Linked DNA regions of Homo sapiens: all the other regions are linked to region 5. Evidence: promoter capture Hi-C in 16 types of primary human blood cells and fetal thymus (Javierre and others, 2016). All regions are on one chromosome and are shown on one strand. Each heading gives the region's core, a stretch centred on a gene start or on the middle of the fragment in contact. The rest is flanking DNA. Distances are from core to core; before and after follow the strand shown.

Region 1 (2,700 bases), core at 65-2,564, 290 kb before region 5:
CATGGTGGCTCATGCCTGTAATCCAGCACTCTGGAAGGCCAAGGAGGGAGGATTACTTAAGCCCAGGAGTTTGACACCAGCCTAGGCAACAGGGTAAGACCTCATCTCTACAAAAAATTTTAAAAATTAGCCAAGCACTAATTTCAATCACACTGATGGAGCAAAACAATCGTATGACCATCTTCATAGATGCTGAAAAACATCTGACAAAATTCAACAAACTTTCTTGTTAAAAACACTAAATAAAGTGGGTATTGATGAATGTTTCCTTAACATGATAAAATATAAATCCCTCAGCACAAAAGCCAGAGCTCTCCTAATGAGAAAATACTAAAGGTTTTAGTCCCAGGTACTCGGAAGGCTGAGGTGGGAGAATCACTTGAACCCAGGAGGTTGAGGCTACAAGGTGAGTCATGATCATGCCACTGCCCTCCAGCCTGGTCTCTAGCAAGAACCTGTCTCAAAAAAAAAAAAAAAAAGAGGGAGGGAGGGAGGAAAGAAGGGAGGGAGGAAGGAAGGGAGGGCCCAATTAAAATAGTGAGAAAAAACACCTACACATAATCTTAAGGAATTCTAAAATTTATTTATGGAAAAGTTTAACTCTCTTGAAAGACATAACATGTTCTTGGATAGGAAGACTCAATATCATCAACATGCCTGTTCTCCCTAATTAATTTATAATTATAGCTCAATCCCAATCAAATACTTTGAGTGTTCTAGAACTAGAGAAATTTATTGTTTGTTTAGAGAAATAAGGAAGAGTCACCAGGAAATCCCTGAAAAAGATAAGCGATGAGATGCAGGTAGCCCTACCAGATATTAAAACAACGAAGCTTCCAAAATTAAAAGTGCTGCATAGCACATGAATAGACATATAGACAATGAACAGAACCAAGAAACCCACATACAGTATCACTGCGTATAAAAATTCAGTACATGATAATGGCACCATCTCAAATCAACATGAAAAAGACCTACATTTTAATAAGAGGTACTAGGATAGCTGGGTTGCCACGTGAAAAAAGATAAAGAGCCACTCCTCATGCCACACCCCAGGAAAATGCAAACAGAATCAGATGCAACATTAAAAAACACCATACAAGTACCAAAAGAAAACATGGGTGGACTCCCCTATAACTCCGGAATCTGGAAAACTTTCCTATGACTCAAAATTCACAAGCTAAAAAGGGAAAGACTGATAAATTTTATTTCATAAAATAAAAAACTTTTGCACAGCAAAAAATAAAAGTATAACTACAGTAAAAAGACAAATGAAAAAAATGTTTCTAATGGCAATTTTAAAAAACTGAAATGGACAAAAAAGATTACTGAATGTCCTATCTAGCATATTTTGGGGTTATCTGTGCCTTTCACTGTCTTTTGGCTATTTTACAACTTTATAAATTGTAGAAAGCTGATACTAATGCAAATGACTCTTGTCCAAAAAAATGCAGATATATTTTTGTCAGTGGAATACAATTGATTACTGCCCTGTGGATACTGACCAGTTGTGTATCCATTTATATATCCATCTCAGCATTCCCAAATCCTATATTGTTTTTTGCCATTGCCTTTGAAACAGTTGTAACATCATACTGATTCCCTCTTAATAAGTTAAATACAATCTTTGGCACATATTCATTTTACATTTGTGTGAGGGTCATGATTTTACCTTTTTGAAAATTATCTTTTAATAGTTTTGGAAGTTTTACCAAAATGCCCAGTGCATTCACCTGACAGAGCCAAGAAAACTGCTTTATCAGATAATTGCACCTCATGGGCTACTCAAGCTTGGGTATTATCTTTTCTTGGCTCCCAGAAGTAAAACCCAAGCAGCAATATATACTTAACTTTGCTGCCTGTTTCTCTGGGTCATCCCCGCTTCCCCCATCCTCTCTACAAATTATATGTTCTGGTGTGGTTTCTAGTTACTGCATGGCCAGTAAGTTATCACCCCTAAATGGCAGCAATGATTGAGAATTCGATTTTATGATCATTTACTTGGTGATCCTTATAGACGGATGATAGAGATCACTTGGGTAAAAGATAAAAGAGACTTTGGTTTGTTAGTCTTTTTAACATATCTGTTTATTCTGAGCTCAAATCCAGTTAAGAATTTCATGTCCACCAAGAACAGGTCTTTGACATCTGGACCAATGAGTTTTTCTATCTCTGTGACTCTTACATCTCTTGACCTGTGAGTGAAGTTACAGAAACAAAGTTACAAAGCTCTGCATCTGTAATTCAGAAAGACTTTTACCTCTTCATTAAGTATGTAAAACAAGTTATCTCTATTAATAGTTTAAACTATAAAGTCTCTTGAATGAAAGAAACTCTGTTCTGACTGGCTTATTGATACAAATAAGTACTTATATAAATAGAATATTTGTAAAATTCCCCCAAAACAAGGAAATTGAACTTCTAATATGTTAAATGTGTTAGACTTAAGAAAAATTCTTATGGAAACTAACTCAAAAACATTTTTAAAACCCAAGGTCACCTAAATAAGATACAATTTTGGCAAACCTTGATAATTTCAGTTTTTAAAAATAGCTATTTCTTGTCTCTGATTAATCATTTTATTCTGCTAAGATTTTTTTTCCTAAACACATACAGGTTTACTGATCACATAAGCTAACATTACCCTACATAATATTTAAGATGATGAAAAGGTAAACTCGCGCTCAAATAAATTATTCT
Region 2 (2,700 bases), core at 152-2,651, 260 kb before region 5:
GTGTGTTTTAACAGTAGCCTTTGGAAAGGAGTGTTCTCACCCTTTTTTATACCCAAACATTAACCTAACAATTGGCATTTTAGGCCCACTGCATGGTCGTGACAGGGTAGCACCCGGGGAACATATCTATGCAGGCTCTGCCCTTGAGGGTGATGCTGAGAGAGTGCTGTGGCTGCCAAATCTAAATGATTTTTTGCTGTAGAAAGACAAGGTACAAGATTGGTACCAGGGATATTTTTCCTAAGAAGAGAAGGTAAAAAAGATCCAAGCACCAAGAAAGGAAGTCAAGTCCAACACCAGAGACAGACTAGCCGACAGGTTAGTTCTAAGGACAGACAAAGTCTGTAGATGTTGGCCAGTGTTGTGAGACCGGGGAGAGGTAGAAAGGGTTACAAGTTGAAGGCCAAGGGCTCTGAAGCAGCAATGGGAGCAGAGGCCATGGCCTAAAACACATCTAGGCTCCCTTCACCCTTTCTCTTGTTTCCACTTAGACTTAGCCACCTAGCATCTAGCACTTAACTACCTAGCACCTGGCACTTGACCACCTACCTAGCCACTAGGTGGATGCACAAGTTTTAGAAGGCAATGGTACAATTTAAAGTATGCCCCATATGGAAAAAAATTGTTGAGTTTTCCATTGCTACAAAGCTCTGATTTCTGCTATTGAAAATTACCAGCTCTTTTTCGCAGAATATTTATGATGCTCAGATAAGACAAAGGTATATGTAATAGTTATAATGGAGTTGTAATTATTTTGCAACTATACCTACATATTGATAATCCAAGAATCAACCAACAAATCTCAATTGTTTACCATGTCCCTAACACTACCCTAAGACCTTTGAAGATATTCAAACTATGTTTAATGCAAAATAAGATTTAAATAGCTGGGAGAAATTTATTCAGGTTTAAACTTTAGTGGATTTAGAAGCTCTTGGCCCTGGGGTCTTTCTGAGAATGAAGAGGTCACACACACACACACACAGATACACACACACACATATCCTTCCACTTAATCTACAAATATTAGTCAACAAATATTTATTGACTGTCACTATCAAATTCAGTGATGAATATCTTGTTCCCACACTGATAGGTGTCAGAGACAGGCAGACATAGAGAATTAAATTTTAAAAGCTGCCCTTTGAACACAATGACACATAGTTTTTCATTTTAATCCTGTTCTTGAACTGTGAAAATTAATACCCACATTACCAAAGAAGCTATTTTTAAACCTTATATATTGGTATTCAAGAAAATGTTAAAAAAGAAAAAATAAATAAACCTTATATGGAAACAAAATAATACATATCTGAATGGTCACCATACACTCAAGAAAGCAGCTACAATACAAATAAATGGTCTACATTTTTTCCTATGACTCATATCCACCCAAATGTAAATTGGCTTCATTGATATGTCTAATTGTTCTGAATGTTTTTCACTAAGTGATATGTTAAAGAAAACAATTGAAACCTCATATAAATTTATTTGGAGGTGATTGAGGTCCTTTTTGATCATTTGAAAGTCATAGTTTTTAATCTTATGGTGATGAGTTAGGAAACATGCAAAATAAAATGGATTAATTATGTCCTGTAATCTCTCTAAGGATAAGAAAACTTTGAGATTAAGTATATACAGAACTGTAACTGTTTTGCAAGAATATTTTTTACTCTTATAAAGAATTATAAAAAGCAGGGTAAAGGACCACCTTATCACCGCTAAAGAAGACACAATAAAATGCAACGGTGCCCTACCTTAAAGTAGCTTCAACAGGCAGTTCGAAAGACTGAATCTCAGCCAGGACATTCTCATAGGTTTGATCTGTTTCTTCTTCCAACATCGCTCGACAGGCCCCTAATTTTCCAGCTGCAGATGTCAGATATTGAGTGAAAAACTGTTGTAATTTATAAAAAAAAAAATACCGTTTTCCTTATAATTATTAGAAGGATTCTCTGTTCACCCAAAGGAGCAACAAAAACAAGCTCACTGTCTGACTTCATGCTATAAAAGTCTTTGCTTCCAAGAATGTTGCACAGCTGTTGCTGTCCTGTTTCCACTTATAACATTTTACTTACTATTAACCTTGACACAGTTCGGAAAGTTCCTGCCTAGTGCCAGCTATATTTATTCACTCGTTTCTCAAAGACAATAACTATATGTAGGAATTACAGTCATTACACTATACAAATTTATTAAATGCATTTGATTTGACAAGGCATATATATTAATATTATTTATGCTAAATACATAACTAAAGCTACATTCCTAGTTATTACCGCAACTATGCTTCCAGAAGCATTTGTATTTGTGGGCAAGGGCTTGCCCACAAACCCAAGGAGGTAATTTGCCCAGGAAAAATGAAATGTGCTATGGGATGTGATTTTGAGGTCACTAGGCTAATTCCTTGGTGCCCTGTCTATCTCCTTTGCTTCTCTACTTTGCTGTGTCAATTTCCTCCATTAGAGATAGAGCCATTAGTTCTTTTATCTCTTGTTCAAATACAAATGCTTCTGGAGGCATTTAGATCTTACTCCTTTTCAGTTCCTTATGCCTCACTGTGAATGAGTTTGCTAGATCCCTTCTGCAGAATAGGTTTTGATGGAGAGGAAGAAAGAGAATGAAGATGTCAGGGTTTTAAGAAGGCTAGCTGCCACCGAGAGGAAGAAAGAGTGCATGAACTAGAGGCCCAAAACAGCA
Region 3 (2,700 bases), core at 46-2,545, 490 kb after region 5:
CACATTAGGAAAGCCTGTAAGTAGACTCACCGTGCCACCATGTGGCTAAAGCTCGCATATTCTTTAGAGTCAGTACAGGGTAATAATGGGCAGTTTGATTCTCCTCCTGCTGCCACCTGGAAGTACAACACGTTGCCACTCTGCTTCATTCACGTAATGTGAATCTCCATACAGAAATAGCCCTGTTGCATATCTCTGTGGCATTAGGACCTCTCCAGAATGCATATCTCTTCACTCTGACAGAAAATAAGTGCCAGACTTGGGGGTTATGATATCACCAGGAAAAAGTAGAGAGTGAGGTATGTGGTCTCTGTACTCTTCCCCAGTTGATTAACATGAGTATTCCTCTGATCCCAAATTTCTTGGTTTTGGCATCTGATGGGAGGACTGCCCCAGTGACCAAGCTTTTGGATCCATTCATTCCCAACCTTGATCAGGCTGGAAAAACTTTCAGTCTTTCTCATTAGAAGCATATAAACTGTTCTTGACTTCATGACTTCCTTAGGCCCTGCAAACAGATCAATCTTGAGAGAGTGCTCATCTGAATCCCCACAACCTACTGTTTTCTCGTTCATCTTTTGGTTCTATCTTTCCTAACAATTGCTGTGATAATTCCTTCCTTTCTTTTTTTCCCCTACCAATATTCTGTGGTGAATCCTGAAATTTCTTTCTCTGCCTTCCCCACCTGCCCTGACTGTTGTGAGGATGGTTTTTCTGTGGGAGGTAAAAATTTGTGAAGTAAATATTCAGAGATATGTGGCATATATCTAGAGAACATATATCCTGAATTTTTCTAAGATCATTTATTTCAGACATTTTATATAAACATTTGATAGTTCACATGTATTAGAAACCATGTCCTGATTTGTGACTTAGGAAACAGGAGTATATTATAACCCTATCCTTTATTGTTGTTTTATGATATGGTTGCAGGCAGAAACCATCCTGTATCAAGTTTTTCAACAGTAGAAGCTTTTTCACCATGTCCTAAGTTCAGTATGGGTTGTCCCGGATAAACTCCAGATTTGGCATACTGACTTGATTAACTGTATTACCTTTAGGGATAAGGGTTTTCCTAATGTTAGTATGTGTTTGTGTCCTCCCTCTGCACCAAAAGCAAACCCTCATCCAAAGCTGATGTCAAACTTTGCCATATCAGTGGCAGGCTGTGTGATATTAGCATAAAACCAAAATAACACTGCAATGAATTGATACTTATAGAGCATAAAACCAGGCCAACTTAAATGTTAAGCAGAGATTCACAGGGTGGGAGAGGGGCAAGAACCCTGGACAAAACTAAACATTTGAATACCACTCTGTCCTCAGCAGTGTGCCCAGAGCTCTCATGGATGTTTAATTCTCACAATGACCCTGTGAGATTGTAAGTGGTAGACTGCGCTTTCGAGATGATGAAGCAGAGTTCAGATAGAGTAACTGGTCTTTCTCAGGTCGAAAGAAAGATACTTTATTAAGCTGAGATCTGAGATGTTGTCTCAGTAACAGTAGTAACAGTCTACTTGGTACCAGTGTACTCTGTCTGATTTAATTCATTGTTCATACCATCTATTTGAAAATATTCTTAACTTCCCAACATATCTGATGCAGAGCAGAAGCTTATGAGCACATTTCTTCCACTTGAAGTGTGTGAATTGCCCTTGAACCAACTTGACAATTGTGGTAAACCTAGAAAGTCCTCCTCAAGTTTAATCTTCCTTTCTTTCAGAAGTCAAGACCTCTTTGATATCTTAAGGTGCCCTATGCCTCTTGCCTATCTGTTTTGTCCTTATTTCCAAAGAGAAGAAATATGGATTATAGATTCGCAGTTTAGAATCTGTAGAGACGAATGTGTTATTTTCCTCTGGAATCCTCATTTCTACTCTATCTCGTTTGGCTCTCCAGTATCTCAGACTCACATGTTGCCTTAGCTGGCTTTGAAATGTATTATAATTAAATGATATAAATAGGGCCCTAAGGTGAACCCATGAAGAAGGAGTCATCATGGGTTTCCTCTCTGGTGAACTAAAGACCCTTTCACATCTTTGTAAAGAATTGGGAGCAGGCCAAGCACGGTGGCTCACGCCTGTAATCCCAGCACTTTGGGAGGCCAAGGCAGGTGGATTACCTGATGTCAGGAGTTCAAGACCAGCCTGGCCAATATGGCAAAACCCCATCTCTACTAAAAATATAAAAATGAGTTGGGCGTGGTGACTGCACTCCTATAATCCCAGCTACTTGGGAGGCGGAGGCAGGAGAATCGCTTGAACCCTGGAGGCGGAGGTTGCAGTGAGCCGAGATCGTGTCACTGCACTCCAGCCTGAGCGATAGAGCGAGATTCCATCTCAAAAAAAGAAAAAGAAAAAAGAAAAAAGAATCAGGAGCAAATCCAAGGAACCATAATTGAAGCTTATATTCAGATTCAGAGATGTAGTCATCACAATCCAAAGGAATCCATGGGGATGCTATGCTCCATATTGCTGCAGTATTCTAGTTTGCCCCTCCAGTCTGTGGCACAGTGACGCTCATCACAAGAGCCAGCATGTGGATTAGACTCATTGTGTTGCTGCTACCATGGAAGTTGTTCATGAGACAACTTAAGTTGTCTTAGGATCACAGAGCATCTTGTCCAAAGTATGGTATACCCTTGAACCATAGCTATTAGACCGCCATCTTCCCACCATGACCAGACAGACCAATGAGCAC
Region 4 (2,700 bases), core at 199-2,698, 310 kb before region 5:
GCACTGTTGCACCCATCAGGTGAAATCAACCAATGGACAGAAAAGGGGGATGATAACTGAGGCATAGCTAATAGTTACGCAGTTTTAAATTACAAATGCAACAAAATAAGGAGGAGCAAAAAGAAGTAGAGAAAATCGAGGGCCCTGTACTTGACCTCAGTTGAAGAGACTCTGAAAAAGCTATTTTTCTTTTTTTCTTTAAATGATAATCATTATTCTTTGAAATTCTGATTTGTAGGAACAGAAAGGAAATGCTGTTAAGCAGTACTCACTCTTTGAGCCTAGTTGGTTTATAGTTATATCTACCTAATTCATATATGAATGTGCTAGATTTATTGCCATTCTAAATTTTGAATCAATAAACAATTTTAACAAAAATAATTTTTCGTTCTTTCAGTCTCCCAAAATTTTATAATTTCTATTGTTAAGTCTAATCAAGTTCCTGTAAACAAACACACACATATTTATATGCTAGAACCAGCAAGAGCGAACATTAGAAAATTAGTAAACTTTCCATTCTCCCACATCCAATAAGAGTATACCTTAGTGCTCTATATATAGATAATGACACATCAATGTAAGAGAGTTCAGGACAAAGGTAAAATAAATAAATAAATAAAATAAAATTTGTTTAAAAGTAAAAAAGAGGGGGGGGTTAGCTCAGTCATCCCTTCCAAAAGCTTAACACAATAAAATGTCTAATTCTGGCAAAATTTAATGCAACTCAGACAGAAGTACAGATGCAAAATCATTTTTAAAAGAAGAGATGGCTGGGCACAGTGGCTCACGCCTGTAATCCCAGCACTTTGGGAGGCTTAGGTGGGTGGATCACAAGGTCAGGAGTTCCAGACCAGCCTGGCCAATATGGTGAAACGCTGTCTCTACTAAAAATACAAAAATTAGCCAGGCGTGGTGATGCACACCTGTATCCCAGCTACTTGGGAGGCTGAGGCAGGAGAATCACTTGAACCCGGAAAGCAGAGGTTGCAGTGAGCCAAGATTGCGCCACTGCACTCCAGCCTGGGCAACAGGGAAAGACTCCCATCTCAAAAAAAAAAAAAAGAGCTGACTTTAACCTTCATGTGAACAGAGAACAAATATGGCTTATGCCACACTAAAGATTTTACTTACATATTTTAATTTTAGCAACTCGGAATGTATAAAAATACTTTGTGTCTCAAAAATATAGCTAAAAAAATTTTAAGTATCAAACACATTTTCTATCTTCATTATATCAACCCTTGAAAACCAAAGTTTTCAAAGTTTAAATATGAGTTAACTCGCTGTAACTGATTATAAATTGGCTTTAGGGAATTTAAACAAAGTATCTTGCAGAGATACTTTCTTGAATTGTGTGTTTAGGGCTCCACCTAGTGGTAGTAAAATAAATACAAAAAGAAAGATAAGACATTAAAATGTTAAAATTGGTTCACTAGAAATTAATGCTTTTATCATCAAATCAAATGTCTTAACTGAGAAACTACGGCCACTTGAATTTTTTGGAAAGATGCTATATTCTGTAAATAAATGACTTAGTAATCAAATTCCACAGTATTTTTTTTAAGGAAAAGTTCCCTTTCTGATGAAAAACCAACATTCACGATGTATTATTGTGAAAAAAACTCATCACTTTTTATATATTTTTTGTTAAAAAGCATGTAATATCCTTACACTATTTTGGGTATCTTTTTAATTCACTGCAGTCTTCATTGTAAAGAATAAATCCATTACAACTGTGAAGAAAATAAAATGTATTTACTCTTTTTTACTAAAATAATGTCTACACTTTGAGGAAAATCTGATATAATCTCAAAGTATCTAATTCTAATGTCCCGAAATTACTTATATTTGCTAGAATAGTATTGTTTCTTTTCTAGACAAAATAAAAATGGCTTTTCTCTGTCCCAGAATGCTTTGTTCACTAACAGAATACATATACTGGTTGCATAACCATAAAAGAGCATGGTCAGGGGCTACATCTGCATAGTGTATAATTTGAGAAAGTACCTAGAGCAATTGCCATTAAAATGCTAGTCACTGGCTGACTTTCCCATGTATTTTACTAAATGTCAATCAACTGCTTTTAAGAAAAAACAAAAACTAGCAAGAAAATGGACTTCCAAATACTGGAAAACTAGAAGCAGAAATATTGTTCAGGAATCCCTGGGCATTGACACTGCTTGTGTCAACTGACACCTTTTGGTGTCAAAGCTTTCTACAAACCTTTATCAGAAAACAAAACTTTAGGCCAGGCACAGTGGCTCAAGCCTGTAATCCCAGCACTTTGGGAGGCCAAGGCAGGTGAATCACTTGAGGCCAGGAGTTTGAGACCAGCCTGGCCAACATGGTGAAACTCTGTTTCTACCAAAAATACAAAAAAATTAGCCAGTTGTGGTAGCACACACCTGTAGTCCCAGCTATTCGGGAGGCTGAGGCAAGAGAATCACTTAAACCCAGGAGGCAGAGGCTGCAGTGAGCCAAGATCGCACCACTGCACTCCAGCCTGGGCAACAGAGCAAGACTCCATCTCAAAAAGAAAAGAAAAGAAAAGAAAAGAACAAAAAGAAAACAAAACTTAACTCTTTTACCCCTGACAAAATACTATCAGTTACTTCTGACTTCCTTTAATGCTTTTTAATGTCATTTTATACCTTTTCAAACACTAACCTATTTTCTGCCAGTTTTTCAAATGATACATTA
Region 5 (2,700 bases), core at 198-2,697:
TGGAAGCATTTTTATGTAAGCATTTCTAATAAGTAGCCTAAAGAGATCTCAGGAAAAAAAAGGGTACTAATCTCCAAGTCTCGAGTATTTGTTGTGATGTATTTTCTCTCTATAGTAATCTTCTGATTGCTAATTTTGTATTTATAATTTGTATTTTATGTCTCAAAGAGGTCCCCCAAATTGTATATGTTTCAAGCCCTCCAAGTCTGAATCTACCCCAGCCCATTTATAGATTCCATTAATGGAGCATAAATGTATTCAGAAAGGCTGCATTAACACTCTCAGAGGAGCTGCTTCAAGGTGATTGACTACTCTGCATTGGGACTGGTAATTTAAAGGTTCTTAAAACCATGCACTTGCAAACACCACTAGGAGGCTTGCCATAATTTTTACCTGTTTTCATCCAAAGGTTTGCCTTTAGGTGAAACCGCACTGTTAAAAAGATCGTGGGTACGTCTTCGATAAAGCATCAACTTGATTAAGGAACCCTCCTACTGAATTCCCATTTAAAGCAATACTTGGACTAAGGACACCGTTTTTGGCTGCAGTCTTGATCGTCTGTCAATCAGAAACCTAAAAGTACTTAAGCTGGCAAGTCACCATCCCTAATAGCATTCTTCCTTAAAGACTCCCATAAGGTATTATGGAAAGTTAGATTCATAACAACTATTAAGTTGTTCGTGGGTGCAAAGCCCCATAAAGCCACTGGGGAGAAAATTCTTTGTTTAAAAAGTAACCACTGAAGCCGACTGACATTAGTAGTATTCCTAGTACGGAGTACTAACAAGAGTAGTAGTTTCTACTCTGGATTTGAAGCCTTGTTTTGCTGCGGCGCCCGTCCCATCCGCACCTTCCTCTTAAGAGAGCTGCTAACTTCCCCAAGGATGGAAACGTCCCCCTGGGTCCTGGCCTCTCTATCGCTGACCCCTGCGTCTGAATTTCCCCCACGCCGCACTCGAGCCTTGTCTCCAGCGCATCTGTGCCTTCGCGGTCCACGTCCCCACCGCGCTCTAGAGGGAGCCCGCGGGCCGCGCGCCGGCCGCGGATTCATTTTACGTGAGGCCGCCGCGACCACGAACCTTGTTCCAACACCTGCAGGGTCCGGCACGCTAGTCAGTGGGGGTGCCTCAGAAAACATAGCCCCGTGTGCCCTCACTGGATTTATGAGCGGCCCCTCGCCCCCTCACAGTCAGACACACGTCGCCACCCTCACAAGTGCGGCCGGTGGGATCTAGCTGGGACCCTCCCCGCCTGGGAAAGTCTGGGTGCTGGCTCCTAAAGCGCCCCGGCCAAACCCCTGTCCCTCCAGTCCGCCTGCTCAGGCCTCGGCTGTCCGCGGTCTTCACCGTCCTCGCCTGCGTCCTGGCCCCATCCGGCTCCAGGCAAAACCCGGAGCAGCTACCTCTCCGCAGCTCCCGGGAGACCGCGCGGCGCCGCGGCTAGAGCATGCGCAGTGCGCAGGGCCGGCTCGAAGCGCAAGCAGGAAGCGTTTGCGGTGATCCCGGCGACTGCGCTGGCTAATGCGGTACCGGCTAGCGTGGCTTCTGCACCCCGCACTGCCCAGCACCTTCCGCTCAGTCCTCGGCGCCCGCCTGCCGCCTCCGGAGCGCCTGTGTGGGTAAGCGGAATGGAGCGCCCGGGCCCTCGGGCCCCGTGGGTCACAGCGGTTTGGCGCTCGGGTTGCAAAGTGGTGATTCAGCACTTAAAGCCGCCACCGCTGCCCCTCACGCCGCCCGTCCCGCCGGCCTGGGGCCCGTACTGCCGCGCTGAGGCCGCCCCAGGGCCCGGAAGAGCGGCTCGCCAGGCGGGAGCCAGAGGCCTGGTCCAGAGTCGGGGACGTCCCTTGGGCTGGTGAGGGGCCGGGGCCGCTACCCGGGGCCACGGGGCGTGTGCCACTAGTGCGGGGGGCGCAGGGGCGGACAGAGTCACCCGGCCTGCACCTGGGAGCCGCGCCGCGTCACTCTCCCGGAGTCCGCCTGTGAGGGGGCCGGGAACCTGAGGCGGACTCGAGCCGTGGGGTAAAGGAATCCGGCGACTTCGGGGGGACCGCTTCTCACCTTGCCCTCAGCCCTGCCCTTTTCTCCGGGCACTGAGTTTCCAGGACCGTGTGGAATGCCCGCGCTGGGAAAAAAGTTTGCCTGCCTCCCGCCTTGGAAGACGAGTGTGGGGTTTCCTATCGGGGGACATTTAGGAGCCAAAAGATACCTCGGGATCCTCTACAGCAGCTCCCTTGTTTTACGTCGGAGACAACCGGAGCTCCGAGAGATGGCTTGATTTCCCAGCAACTGCCGAGATTGTGGCAAAACCAGGATTAGGACACAGGTTTTTTGCCATCCGGCGGCGTGCCCTCTCCACTGCACCGTTGATCTGCGTACGCTAGGCGTTTTCAGGCTTGTAGTGAACGCTGAATACTTTTTACTACGAATGGAAGAAGATAGGCAGTATTATCTTGCCCTCCCTAGAAACGTTATTTGAACCCCTGCTGGTTTTAATCAGTAATAGCCAGCACCTACTAAGTGCAGGGCACTGTGCTGGACCCTCTATGTAAAGTATGTGTCTGCCTTCCAAGGAACTTTGACTTGATTGGAGCGGATTGGGATGCCACGGGAATTGAGATAGCTACAAGGGTGTGTTGATGAGGGTCAGAAGATGGGTAGTATGGGTAGTGTGTGGGGCCAGAGATGGGGGGGTAGGCTGGCT

The links. Contacts are between HindIII fragments. The CHiCAGO score rates a contact against its expected background, and 5 or more counts as called.
Region 1: a contact is called between a fragment that was not itself captured here and the fragment with the promoter of IDE in region 5, in 1 of 17 cell types (naive B cells). The highest score is 7.3, in naive B cells.
Region 2: a fragment that was not itself captured here is called in contact with the fragment with the promoter of IDE in region 5 in 1 of 17 cell types (neutrophils); the score reaches 5.0 in neutrophils.
Region 3: a fragment that was not itself captured here is called in contact with the fragment with the promoter of IDE in region 5 in 1 of 17 cell types (megakaryocytes); the score reaches 5.1 in megakaryocytes.
Region 4: a contact is called between a fragment that was not itself captured here and the fragment with the promoter of IDE in region 5, in 2 of 17 cell types (naive B cells and total B cells). The highest score is 6.0, in naive B cells.

Annotation. Positions count from the first base shown.
Region 1 is chr10:92,866,595-92,869,294 of GRCh38, reverse strand. The region is part of intron 1 of EXOC6 (exocyst complex component 6); the gene reads right to left. Among named protein-coding and RNA genes, the nearest start is that of EXOC6, 19 kb to the right of the region's middle. The HindIII fragment of the contact is 957 bases long and covers 836-1,792 here.
Region 2 is chr10:92,833,882-92,836,581 of GRCh38, reverse strand. It overlaps a transcript of EXOC6 not described here. Among named protein-coding and RNA genes, the nearest start is that of EXOC6, 13 kb to the left of the region's middle. The HindIII fragment of the contact is 2,950 bases long and covers 1-2,700 here.
Region 3 is chr10:92,085,268-92,087,967 of GRCh38, reverse strand. All of the region lies in intron 8 of CPEB3 (cytoplasmic polyadenylation element binding protein 3), which reads left to right. Among named protein-coding and RNA genes, the nearest start is that of BTAF1, 160 kb to the right of the region's middle. The HindIII fragment of the contact is 641 bases long and covers 975-1,615 here.
Region 4 is chr10:92,883,745-92,886,444 of GRCh38, reverse strand. The region is part of intron 1 of EXOC6 (exocyst complex component 6); the gene reads right to left. Among named protein-coding and RNA genes, the nearest start is that of EXOC6, 37 kb to the right of the region's middle. The HindIII fragment of the contact is 1,531 bases long and covers 683-2,213 here.
Region 5 is chr10:92,572,840-92,575,539 of GRCh38, reverse strand. IDE (insulin degrading enzyme) reads left to right here and starts at 1,447. Exons shown (of 25, transcript NM_004969.4): 1 at 1,447-1,618. The coding sequence starts at 1,521. RefSeq lists enhancers at 788-1,027, 1,038-1,097 and a silencer at 1,598-2,047. The HindIII fragment of the contact is 22,211 bases long and covers 1-2,700 here.